4 separate regions of the Homo sapiens genome follow, and all the other regions are linked to region 3. Evidence: promoter capture Hi-C in human tissues and cell types (Jung and others, 2019). All regions are on one chromosome and are shown on one strand. The core of a region is centred on a gene start or on the middle of the fragment in contact, and the rest is flanking DNA. Distances in the headings are between cores, read along the strand shown. Region 1 overlaps PRKCB (protein kinase C beta). Region 2 overlaps PRKCB (protein kinase C beta). Region 3 holds the start of PLK1 (polo like kinase 1). Region 4 overlaps PRKCB (protein kinase C beta).

Region 1 (3,178 bases), core at 243-2,742, 390 kb before region 3:
GCTCCTCTTATTCCTTTTCCCCAGTCCTGTTTGTCTTTTTTTTTTTTTTTTTTTTTTTTTTAGACAGGGTCTCACCATGTTACCCAGGCTAGTCTCAAACTCCTGAGCTCAAGCGATCCACCCGCCTTGGCCTCTCAAAGTGCTAGGATTACAGACGTCAGCCATCGTGCCCGGCCATGTTTTGTTTTCAAGGCAATGCAGAGAAGAGGTAGCTCAGGCTCCTCTTACCATACCAGATATGCAGAGTTCTGAGAGGTCTGAAGGCAGAGTAAGTCTCAAATGGAAAGCCAAGAGAGAATGCTTAGGGTATATCATGAAGACGAGGTCATTAAGCTCCTCCCCTATCTCTGAAAGCCCCAAGAGCAGCATCCAAGTCCTTAACTCACATCCTCACATCAGCCCTGGAGTGGAGGGGGGCTTTGAGCTCCCTCTTCAGGTCACAGTGTGTACTAACTACCCTTTGTCCAGATGGTTCCCTCCCTTGCCTTTGGCCCAAAGCTCATTCATCCTTCTAGTTAGATCTATAAGGCCACCTCTTCCCAGAAGCCTTTCCTGACTTCATCTGACCCATCACAGGATTTCTTCCTTTCTTATCTTCAGTGACACAGTATACTTTAGAGAGATATGTACTTGCTTTACTTGTTCTGCTATATTAAATAGAGCTCCTTAAGGGAAGGGACTATGACTTCCTAATTTTTCTGGCCAAGGGCTTGGCCTCAGGATCAAACAGACCTGAGTTTGAGTTCAAAGTGATACCACTTCCTGGCTGCGGAGGCTTGGAGGATTACTTAACCTCTCTGAGCCTCAGTTTCCTCATCTGTAATATGAGAATAGCAACAGTGTTCCCTCATAAGATGGCTGAGAGGGCTGAGGAGCTATATACTTCATGCTATTATATGCGTTGTAATGACTGCAACCTATTTTACACTCAACAACTCCTAGTCATTATTATTATTCTGTTCTATTAGGTGCCTGGGATACTATTTTCTATATATTTCATATATACTTAATAAATGATTTTTAAATGTCATTAAATTCCCTGGTTTCAAGGCCGGGCGCAACGGCTCATGCCTGTAATTCCAGCATTTTGGGAGGCTGAGGCAGGCGAATCACTTGAGGTCAGGAGTTTGAGACCAGCCTGGCCAAGATGGCAAAAATCCGTCGCTACTGAAAATACAAAGATTAGCCAAGAGTGATGGCACATGCCTGTAATCCCAGCTACTTGGGAGACTGAGGCACAAGAATCGCTTGAACCCAGGAGGCAGAGGTTGCAGTGAGCCAAGATCGTGCCACTGCACTCCAGCCTGGACGACAGAGCAAGACCTTGTCTCAAAAAAAAAAAAAAAAAAATCCCCTGGTTTCCTGCAAGATGAAAAGCTTACCATCACAGGGCCCCAATCCCAGTGTAAGTTAACGTCCCTTCCCTGGTTGCCCAGGACACCTTGCACTCGTGTCTGGCACAGCAGTCCTAACACTTTGCTGTAATTATCCATTTATTTGTCGTATTGACAGTGGTGACGCCATAGCCCAGCACAGTGTGAGCCACACACTGAAGGAAGGAAGGAATGGCCATGAATCACGTCATCTCGGGAGTACCCGTTGGGAATGGAGAAGAATCTTAAGACCTCCAGCCCAGAGAGAATATACAGGTTTTGTGATTTGTTCTAGGCTCTGATGATGTCATGACAATAACAATGACAACTTTTATTGAGCACATACTATATGCCAGGCACTGTTTTGTTTTGTTTGTTTTGTTTTGATACAAAGTCTTGCTTTGTTACTCAGGCTGGAGTACAGTAGTGCAATCACGACTCACTGCAGCCTCAACCTTTGGGGTTCAAGTGATCCTCCCACCTCAGCCTCCCAAGTAGCTGGGACTACAGGTGTACGACCATGCCTGACTACTTCTTAAAATTTTTTGTAGAAATGGGGTCTCACTATGTTGCAGGCTGAAATCAAACTCCTGGGCTCAAGCAATCTTCCCACCATGGCCTCCCAAAGAGGTGGGATTACAGGCATGAGCCACCACGCTCAGACCCAGGCACTGTTTTAAGCACTCTATACACAGCACAGCACTGCTCGTCCCCAGTGCTCAGCCTCTTCCGGGCCAAACTTCAACGTCTCACTCTGGGAGGCAGGAATCCAGCAGCTGAAAGAAGTCAGTCTTACATGATTTAAAAACAGGCTGTTCTGAGGCCATCTGCTTCATTTGCCCCAGGACATGGGGACTGGACCAAACTGTCCTCTAACACGGCACCTCCTGCATTTCATGTACCCTTATCTGATCTAAAGCCACTTTCTATACCAAATTAGTCAAGTGTGATGGTGAGGAGCTTAAACCCAGAGATCCTGGCAGATCAGCTCTGCCATAGAGCAGCTTTGTGACCTGAAAGTTACCTAACTTCTCGGTAACTCAGTCTCCTTGTTTAAAAAATGGGGCTAATGATAAGGATGTTGGCTCATAGGAATGTTACAATCATTATAAATTAATAGAATGTCTGGCATATGGTAAACATTCACTATGTGCTACTTTGTTATTATTGGCTCTTATTTTATATCGCTGTCTCCATAGTGTTCTAGCAGAATGCTTAGCAACCTTTACTTCACTATCTTCACTCCCCAAAGTTCTCAGGGTCCCCTACCAGGATCTGAAAGAAATGAGGATTCCTCACTCTATCACTGATGCTCACAACACCCTTCTTTAAAAATAATTTTCTGAACCAAACAAATATTACCTTAGATCTTATCCCAAAATTAAATAAATGCTTTCATTTGTATATTCACCTTCTGGTCTTTTTCCATGTTAACATTCAATTTTTACATAATTATACCACTCTAAATCTATTTTGTATTTTATATTTTTATTTAATATCATACCACTTGGGGCAATGATAAAGTAGCTCTCCCACTGAGAGCAACTATAAAAGCCAGATAAAAAATATTTTTCAAGAAACTGGAATTTTGAAGGAATTAGAATTAAGATAAGTCCAATATTCTGTGTGTGGTTTTTTTTTTTTTTTCCTTTGGGCCATAAATCAATTCTCAACACAGGGCAAAGGACTAAGAAGCTAGACAGAGGGCACCTGCTAAGAAGGAGGGAGGCCACCAGAGCTTGAAGCTTATTCTTGGGGCTAGGAATCAAAGCTTCCAGGGAAGGCAGGACTTGAGGGGCCAAATC
Region 2 (3,104 bases), core at 98-2,597, 290 kb before region 3:
GGCCATTAATCTATAGTAACAGAAAGATCAGTGTCTACCACACTGATGGACTACCACAGTGTCCACCTACTTGGTTCTAGGGTCTTTGCTCTTAGCCACTACACATTCACTTTAAACTCCCCATGGAAGATGCAACCATTCCCAGTGGGCCCCACTGCAGGGGAAGGAGGAGAATGTCTTTTTGGTTTTGGTTTTTGAGACAGGGTCTCACCCTGTCGCCCAGGCTGGAGTGCAGTGGCGCGATCTCAGCTCACTGCAACCTCCGCCTCCCAGGTTCAAGCAATTCACTTGCCTCAGCCTCCTGAGTAGCTTGGATTACAGGCACCCACCACCACATCCAGCTAATTTTTGTATTTTTAGTAGAGATGGGGTCTCACCATGATGGGCAGGCTGGTCTCGAACTCCTGGCTTCAAGAGATCTGCCCACCTGAGAATGTCTCTTGATACTGAAACTGAAGCCCTTTCTCAGGACCTTTAGCTCCTAGAAACGGTTTGAAACCCACACTGAATCTCAGCATTTATGAGTACTTAATATTGACCAGGCCCTTCCCTTCGAGAGTACATGAGCCACCCAATAACCTTCCAAGGTCAGTTATCTCATTCTCCTCCACTTTCAAGGTAGGGAAGCTGAGAGTTACGTGCTGCTTGTTCCTTGTTTCACCTCTCAGATCCATTTTTTTCTCTCTGATTCTGCTGTGAGCTGAGCCCCAAAAGGCTGACCCTTACAGAATTCATCATCTGGTCCTTCTGGTTTCCAGCTGGGTTCAGCCAGTGGGTGAGGCCAACAGGCAATGGGAGAGGTGAAGAGAAGCTGGGGTGTTTCTTCCCCCTCTTCCTCCCTGCCTCGGTACTGCTATTTGGGAAGCGGTTCATCCCTCCAGGACCATGGTTCCTGCTGGCGATGCCTTCCTTCTTAGCCCCAGCTCTCAATAGGCTCCAAACTATTCCCTCCGCTTGCTTCTTCCTCTTTACAGACGGTAACCGCCTCCTGCTGTTGCAAGGCCCTAGGTGCTTCCACATTCCTTATTTGTAATCTTAACCTTGCCCAAGTCTCCCTAAATAGTCCTTTCATGAAACTTTCTTCTTGCAGCCACCTGAATGGTTCTATTTCCTGCAGGGTCCTGACAACCTCAGGGGTGGAGGAACTTGTCCACAGTCACACAAGTCAGTAAAGGGCAGATAGGGCAGGTAGGTTTGAACCTAGATTCCATCATCTCAAGCATGCTTCCTTCAGAGCAGAAGGCACAAACTCAAAGACCCACAAAGGCCAGGCCAGTAAGCATAACTAAGTCAGGCAAGTGGGTAAAGCACAACAGGGAGTGGTGGGGCTTGGGGAAAACCAGAGAGCATGCACCCCACTGAGAGGCAACCACATGTAAATTTAAACAAGCACTTCAAAGACACCATAAAAGGCCCGGCGCAGTGGCTCACGCCTATAATCCAAACACTTTGGAAGGCCACGGCAGGTGGACCTCACTTGAGGTCAGGAGTTCAAGGCCAACCTGGCCAACAAGGCAAAACCCTGTCTCTACTAAACATACAAAAATTAGCTGGGCATGGTGGCGGGTGCCTGTAGTCCCAGCTACTCGGGAGGCTGAGGCAGGAGAATCTCTTGAACCTGGGAGGTGGAGGTTGCAGTGGGCCGGGGTTGTGCCATTGCACTCCAGCCTATGTGACAGAATGAGACTCTATCTCAAAAAAAGAAAAACAAAAACAAAAAAGAGGAAAGAAAGAAAGAAAAAAGAAAAAAAGACACCACACAAAAATTTCCAAGGAATTTCACCACTGCCTCTCCAAAAACCTCCTGCTGTTAGGAATTGTTCCTGATAGCAACCTAAACTTCTTTTCTCAATCCCATTCTCAATCCTTCCCACACAAGCTTTTAAATTACTTCTCCACTTTGAAAAGATTCAGGCAACAGAGATCATTAATTTTCTGGCTTCAAAGGTGGCTGTCCTGACCCAATGCATTTTCTCCACATCACCATCACCACCCTATCGCCCCCATGGGTGACTATGAGGAAGCTGCTTCCATCCTTTTGTCTTCTGCTGTCAGGGGGCTGGGAACCCAGCCAAGGCCACCATCCAAAAGGAAGGATAAGAGAAGGAATATTCTAACTCACTGCCTGGTGGCAGCGTCATCTGCTCTGTGGGCAGAAAAAGCCACAATAACCTCCACGCAGGAGAGGGAGGAGGCGCCCTCCACACCAACGACCTTGAAATCCGACCAGCTGCTGATTTGCAGGGCAGAGACAGGCCTCCTCCCAGAGCAATTAGAGGAGTGTCTTAAGGCAGGGGCTGCAAACTGGCTCTTGGGTTCACAGCATGTACTGTGCTTTAAAAAAAAAAAAAAATGGAAACCACTGCCAATTCTTAAGCTAGGAGAGTTCACGGTTTTTACAAATCCAGGTTTCCGGCTTTTCTTACAGAAAAATCAGAAGTTTTGTCAGCAGTGGGCCCACATTCTCATGCAGCAACAGAGTCATCAGAGCTTAGTCCACTACAACATCAACTCCAAGGGGGCAGGGAATTTTGCCCGGTTCATTCTCTGCTGTGTCCCCAGATGCAGAACAGGGCTTGGCACACCAGTGTATATGTGATGCATGAATAAGGAATAGTTCCCCTTTCAGACAGCCTTGCATTCTCTAGTTCACAGAAATCCACACCTGATTCAATTCACTCATGTAAGTCCCCTTCTAGTCTCCTGCAGATGGTTGGGCTTGAGACACCCAACTTAAAGGGATTTAAAGGCAGGCGAGACACAATCCTTGCTCCTCTGAAACAAACTAGAGGGATTTTAGATTCGAAGGGATAATAATAATAATCACTTATAGAAAAGCTACTATGCAGTACACTGTTGTAAATACTTTCCACATATTGGCTCCTTTAATCCTCTCTACAGCTATGTGGTAGGTCTTATTATTATCCTTATTGTACTGAAGAGGAAACTGAGGCACTGAGAAAGAAGGTAACTTGTCCAAGATTACACACCAGAAAGAGGTGAAGGCAGCATTCAAATCCAGGCAGTCTATTCAAATCCAGGCCAGAACACATGAAAAAGAAACATCTGATGGTAGAGGAGGAAACCGTAAGGCAATAAAGTCT
Region 3 (2,965 bases), core at 251-2,750:
CATTGGGGCACAAAAAAATAATGCATCTGTAGGCAAGATACTGACTTGTGGGTTGTCTCCTTCCTTTCTCCCAGCCTCCTCCAAATTCCAGCCTCTTGTAGTGATGTCAAGCACCCCTGCAGGCTCAGCAACTCACCTATTTTCACCTCCAGATCTTCATTCAGGAAAAGGTTGCCCAGCTTGAGGTCTCGATGAATAACTCGGTTTCGGTGCAGGTACTGGCAGCCAAGCACAATTTGCCGTAGGTAGTATCGGGCCTCAGGCTCAGTCAGGGCTTTCCTCCTCTTGTGCAGCTCCAGGAGAGACTGTGGGTGGGAAGGAGAGGGCAGGAGGGATGGGGAGGTGGATTGAGGCCGGTGGGGAAGGGAGAGGGTTACCAGGCAAAGGAAGCACAGGACTGGACTCTGGACTCCCAAGGGATGAAAGAGGGGTCTTGGTGGGTTTCTCTCCTTCCCTATGCCCCCACCCCATTCCTTCTCCAGCACAGCGGCATCTGGACCCTGCCTTAACACTGTCCACAACCATTCGCAGCACCCCTTCTCCTACTAGCTTCCCCCCTTACCTGGGGGTCCTCTCTCAGCCCCACTCCGGAAGCTCCGAGTCCCCAGCACCAGATCCCTTTCCTGACTCGTATCTCCCCCGGAAGGCCCGAAGTCTGGCTCCAACTACCCCCCCACTGACCCAGCTCCACCCCAGAAGCTCCCAGGGCGCGGCATCACTAACCTGGGACTCCTCCCTGGGTACTCCAGGGCCCTAGCGTCCATTACCAGCACCCCTCCCCCCAGCACCTCGCGTCCAGAAGCTGACTTCCCTATCAGCAACATGACTCAGACTCCACTTCACTGGAACCCCCTCCTCTAGCAGCTCCCAGAGCCAAGAAGCCCTTACCAAAGACACTTTCCATACGTAAGCGGGAGGCTCCCAGCACCCTTCTCTAGCAGCTCCAAGTCCCAGGCTCTCCCTTGCTGGGTACTCTTTCCAGCAGCTCCAGGTCTGGGCGCTCCAACTGCCCCGCAGGCAGTTCCAGTTCCCCAGCAGCGACACTCACCCTCCGGCGGCAGAGCTCCAACACCACGAACACGAAGTCGTTGTCCTCGAAAAAGCCGTGGAATCCTACGACGTGCTGGTGGGCGAGGCTGCGGTGAATGGATATTTCCATGGACATCTTCTCCCTCTGGTGCGGCTTGAGCAGCAGAGACTTAGGCACAATCTTGCCCGCGAACACCTCCTTGGTGTCCGCGTCCGAGATCTCGAAGCACTTGGCAAAGCCGCCCTTGCCCAAAAAGCGGCCCCGCACATAGCGCCGCCGGCTGCGTGGGTCCACTAGGACCTCCGGGATCTCTTTCGCCGGTGGAGCCGCCGCCGGAGCTCCGGGAGCTGCAACTCCGGGGACCCCGGCTTTCCCAGGGTCGGCCGGTGCCCGTGCCAGCTTCCCTGCAGTCACTGCAGCACTCATGCTCCCGAAGCTGCGCTGCAGACCTCGATCCGAGCAGAGCCTCCGCACCGCTCCGCTCCTCCCCGAATTCAAACGCGGCGCTGGGAACGTTACAAAAGCCTGCGCGCCACTGATTGGCCGCGGGGATTTAAAATCCAAACCCGCCCGCCGCGCGGCACCATGGGAGCGCCCTGCGCAGCAGCAGCCTTTAAACCCGGACCCAGCCGGGGAAAACCTGATTGACACGGACGCCCGAACACGTGGGATAGCCTGGGAAACCAAACCCGGCGTGGATGCGGAGACCCAGCCCCGAGAGAGGAGGAATTCCTTCGGGGTTTCTCCCTTTCTCGGGCGTCCGGGAAAGCTCCTGCGGTTCACTTGCGCCTCCTCCAGGAAGCTTTTACTTAAATCTTCCTCTACCTCGGGGCCAGGGAACAGTAGCATCGCCATCACCTGAGAGCTTGTTAGAACCGCAAAGGCAAACGTTCAGGCCCTACCCCAGACCTCCCGAGTCAGTGTCCGCCTCTCAACAAGACTGCTCAGGTGATTCCTACACATCCTGAAGTTGGAGAAGCACAGTACCAGAGCCCCCCATGATGCAACGAAGCTGTCTGGCCTCCTCGCTACTGAATTTCCCAGGGCCTAAAATAGTGGACACTCAGTTTCTTGGTCAGAGGGAGGGAAGGTTGGAAGAATGCCTAGCAAACTGGCAGGTCATAGCCAAATGTGTCTTGCGGGGTTTTGTTTGGCCTCCCCCCACGCCTTTTTTTTGTGTGTGTGACGGAATCTTGCTCTGTCGCCCAGGCTGGAGTGCAGTGGCACGATCTCAGCTCACTGCAACCTCTGCTTCCCGGGTTCAAGCAATCCTCCCGCCTCGGCCTCCCTAGCAGCTGGAATTACAAGCATGCACCACCATGCCCGGCTAATTTTTGTAATTTTAGTAGAGAAGAGGTTTCACCATGTTGGCCAGGCTGGTCTTGAACTCCTGACCTCAAGTGATCTGCCCCTCGGCCTCCCAAATGCTGGGATTACAGGCGTGAGCCACCGCGCCCCGCCATTGTAAAACATTTACAGCATTTAAAAGAGGAGCTCATAAAAGTTGGGATTTGTGGCCTTTCCTGAAAAAAATCAGCTCTAGCTACTTACTCTGTGCCTACATGCTTTCAGTTTGCCACAGTTTACAGCTACACCCGTTTGTTCTGTAGGTACTTGAGTGGCAACCCTGGAACAGTAAAATACCCACGTTAAAAGCTCTTTCTCTGTGCCTCCTTAGCACCCTCTGATCCTTCATAGAGCCCAGCAAAAATCAACCATACTATAAGCATCCTTCACCTGCCTTGCAGCTAAGCTGAAGGACAATGAGGACAATGATGCCGTCCTTTCTACCCCATGTCCCAAGCTCCCAGAGCAGTGCTTGGTAAAAAAAAAAGGGTACTTACTAAAATGTTGGCTGAATAAAAGGAAGACTTTGAAAAATTAAGTTATTTTGTACCCCTATAGTGTGAATTCTTTTTATTGAAATTTAATACA
Region 4 (3,067 bases), core at 168-2,667, 470 kb before region 3:
CACCATCCAACAATCCTGAATATCTGCAACTATCTCCCATTCCCCCAACCAAAACGAGAGAAGGAGGGGCCCTAGACACCTTCAGTGCAGATGCAGTCATGATAGGACATCTTAGCCTTCCACATGGAAGAGAGACAGGGCAGAATGGCTGGGAATTTCCCCCTTCACCAGGGACAGGGGTGGACATCCTACATCTGTGTCAATTACCCCCATTTCGTAGATAAACACACTGAGGCTCAGGGAGATTAACTTGCTTCAGCTAATGACTGTTCTGAAAATGCAGCTCTGACTGTGCCACTTGAATGCTGAAAGCCCTTCAGTGGCTCTTGAAAGCCAAACAATTCCATGACCACATCCTGTTCTTTCTTTTCCTTTGAACATTCGACTCCCACTGTCTATGACGTCCTTCCATGCTCTTGCACTGCTTTGAAAATCTGAGATTCCACTGGGCTGTTATCTCCTCCTCTAATCTGGAGGTTCCATTCAGACCAAATCGGCCACTACCTCCTCTGGGCACCAGGGCTGCTTTGTAACTATGTCAGTTACTGTAGCTCAGGCATTTCCGCACTTCAATCATTCATATCCGTTTTTTCACATTTCTTCCTGCCACCTAAACTGTTATTTGCTTAGCATTTTAAAAATCTAGTCACATTTCAACTTAACTAAATTTGAAAAGGAAACTTTATATCACCACTATTAATGGCAAGCCAGTATCACAAGTCATAAATGGAAGATAAGCATAAAAATAAATAAAAGCAAAGCGGTGCCAGTAAATTCTAGCTATATACTGCTGGCTGCTGAAGGTTCTGAGTCAGGCTCTGCATCTTCTCCTTGTTAAAGGAAAAAATTGTATTAGAAAGTTGTTAGAGAGCATATTGTCATCAAATGAGATTTGCTTGTTCAAGTAATTAGAAAGAGTAAAAGGAGACACAGAAATAACCTTATCATAACGTGATTTAATTTTATTTCATAGTGCAACTACACGGCACCTAAAACAATCTCAAGTAGCAGTTGAAATCTTCTTGCAAATCAGCAATGCTATGTGCTCCGCATCGTAGGAGATACTATTGCATTTGTACAGATAGTTTTAAAAATCAATAAACAGGGGTGTGTGAAGATTCCCAGTGTCTTGCCCTGCCCTCAACAACATGCCCTATACTGATTAACGGAAAACAGAACGGGCATGCATAAGGCATAGCAAAAATTTAGACATAGAAGCGAACTGAATTCTAGAGCAGGAGTCAGGACACTTTCTCTATAAAGGGCCAAACAGGAAATATTATAGGCTTTGCGGGACGGTCTGGATCAAGAGAATGAGTGTGGCCGTAGTCTAATAAAACTTTATTTACAACAATAAGCAATAGCCTGGGCTCCAATAGTTTGCTGACCCTTGTTTTGCAACAAGTGTTTCAAGAAGATCAGGGAAAATAAGAGTAACCACATGATAAAAAATGACTGCAGTTTAATTTGGAAATGAAAACCCTAGCATGCCTTTCACTTCTTCCAACTCTGTGTTATTAGAAGAACCTTCTGATTGGGCAGTGGATACAGCTGGTCACAGCTGATTGGATCAGAGGTAAGTTCCTCAACCTGAGCCAAGCCAATCGGATTCCCCCTCCCAAGAATTTGAATTAGGGTACTCTGAGGAGTCAGTCCTGGGTCCCTCAACAGAGAATACACAGATCTTCCTAGAGTGGTCCTTTTTTGTTTTGTTTTGTTTTGTTTTCTGTTTTTCGTTTTTGAGACAGATTCTCACCCTGTTGCCCAGGCTGGGGTGCAGTGGCATGATCTTCGTTCACCTCCTCCCGAGTTCAAGCAATTCTCTTGCCTCAACCTCCCAAGTAGCTGGGATTACAGGCGTCCACCACCACACCTGGTTAATTTTTGTATTTTTAGTAGAAATGGGGTTTCACCATGTTGCCCCAGCTGTTCTCAAACTCCAGACCTTCAGTGATCCGCCCATCTAGGTCTCCCAAAGTGCTGGGATTACAGGCGTAAGCCACCACACTCAGCCTAGCGTGGTCCTTTTCTACCACTGTGCAGGCAAAGAGGAATAAAATAGATGTTTGAGGCAGGGGGAAAAAAACAAAGAAGGTAAGAGAACAAGCAGAGGCCTTGCTTTCAGTTTCCAATCTCTCATGAGGCTTAGCCATTTTCTGTTTGAAACCTTTATGTTCCTCCAATAAAGTTATTTTTATTTATATTACTTTGAATGGATTATGTATCTTAGAGATCCCTAAAACAAAATTATTACATAGGTAGCTCAAATTCTTACTAATAATTAAAATACATGAAGCCAAGTAGCATCATGTCAGTATGTGACCTAAAACAAGGCAAATTCCAGTCTTTATAAAGGACAGTGCCTCTTGCCTATGTCAGAATCACTTGAGGGTCTTTGCTTACCATATAGATTCCAAGCACTCCCTCTCCTTCAGGAGCTCTGGGCTGTGACCTGGGAGTCTGCATTTTAATAAACATATTCTTCCTATGTTGATTATAATCACCAGATATTATCAAAATTGATTCATTTAATAAGGTGGCTAGGAGATGTCAGTAGGTAAAGCTGACAGAATCCTTCCATCCTGATTTTCCTAACACTTTCTCAGCAGTCATTAATAGGATGAGAGAAAACTTTCCTTTTCTTCTTAATATTCTAATCAAGCTTTCATTTTCGATATAAATCTCTCTGTCCTCTCTTGGAGTTACATTTTGAGAGCTGTCCCCATAGCACGAAGGAAGTGATACTTTATAGAGGTTTTAAAACATGTCTACAAATATTTGATACTCCTCCAATCAGAGCCAGAGTCTCTGAACCTGGGCAGGCACTGCGGCTGCCTTAATGAACAGAATGTGGTGAAGAGACCCTGCAAGACTTCTGAGGCTGTAGCTTCTGTCAGTTTCTTTCCTTTCTACCCCAAGACACAATGCTAGACCAGGGAACAAGACCCCATGAAGAAACCCTGGTACTACCTGATAAGCTTGATGACCAGGCAGCCCCAGGTGCTCCAGCCAGTGCAGGAAAAACCTCAAGCCACAACCAACCAGTGATCATTCCCAATCTCCTGAC

The links. Contacts are between HindIII fragments. The study calls those that stand out against the background at their distance.
Region 1: a contact is called between a fragment that was not itself captured here and the fragment with the promoter of PLK1 in region 3, in 2 of the 25 tissues and cell types used here (dorsolateral prefrontal cortex and lymphoblastoid cells).
Region 2: a fragment that was not itself captured here is called in contact with the fragment with the promoter of PLK1 in region 3 in 2 of the 25 tissues and cell types used here (hippocampus and lymphoblastoid cells).
Region 4: a fragment that was not itself captured here is called in contact with the fragment with the promoter of PLK1 in region 3 in 1 of the 25 tissues and cell types used here (dorsolateral prefrontal cortex).

What each region holds. Positions count from the first base shown.
Region 1 is chr16:24,068,320-24,071,497 of GRCh38, reverse strand. The region is part of intron 5 of PRKCB (protein kinase C beta); the gene reads right to left. Among named protein-coding and RNA genes, the nearest start is that of MIR1273H, 130 kb to the left of the region's middle. The HindIII fragment of the contact is 4,818 bases long and covers 1-3,178 here.
Region 2 is chr16:23,966,262-23,969,365 of GRCh38, reverse strand. The region is part of intron 2 of PRKCB (protein kinase C beta); the gene reads right to left. Among named protein-coding and RNA genes, the nearest start is that of PRKCB, 130 kb to the right of the region's middle. RefSeq lists an enhancer at 1,255-1,384. The HindIII fragment of the contact is 6,673 bases long and covers 1-3,104 here.
Region 3 is chr16:23,677,424-23,680,388 of GRCh38, reverse strand. It overlaps PLK1 (polo like kinase 1), which reads right to left and starts at 1,500. Exons shown (of 10, transcript NM_005030.6): 1 at 1,049-1,500; 2 at 137-305. The coding sequence starts at 1,456. It overlaps DCTN5 (dynactin subunit 5), which reads right to left. Exons shown (of 6, transcript NM_032486.4): 6 at 2,917-2,965. The HindIII fragment of the contact is 4,791 bases long and covers 864-2,965 here.
Region 4 is chr16:24,148,996-24,152,062 of GRCh38, reverse strand. The region is part of intron 9 of PRKCB (protein kinase C beta); the gene reads right to left. Among named protein-coding and RNA genes, the nearest start is that of MIR1273H, 53 kb to the left of the region's middle. The HindIII fragment of the contact is 4,819 bases long and covers 1-3,067 here.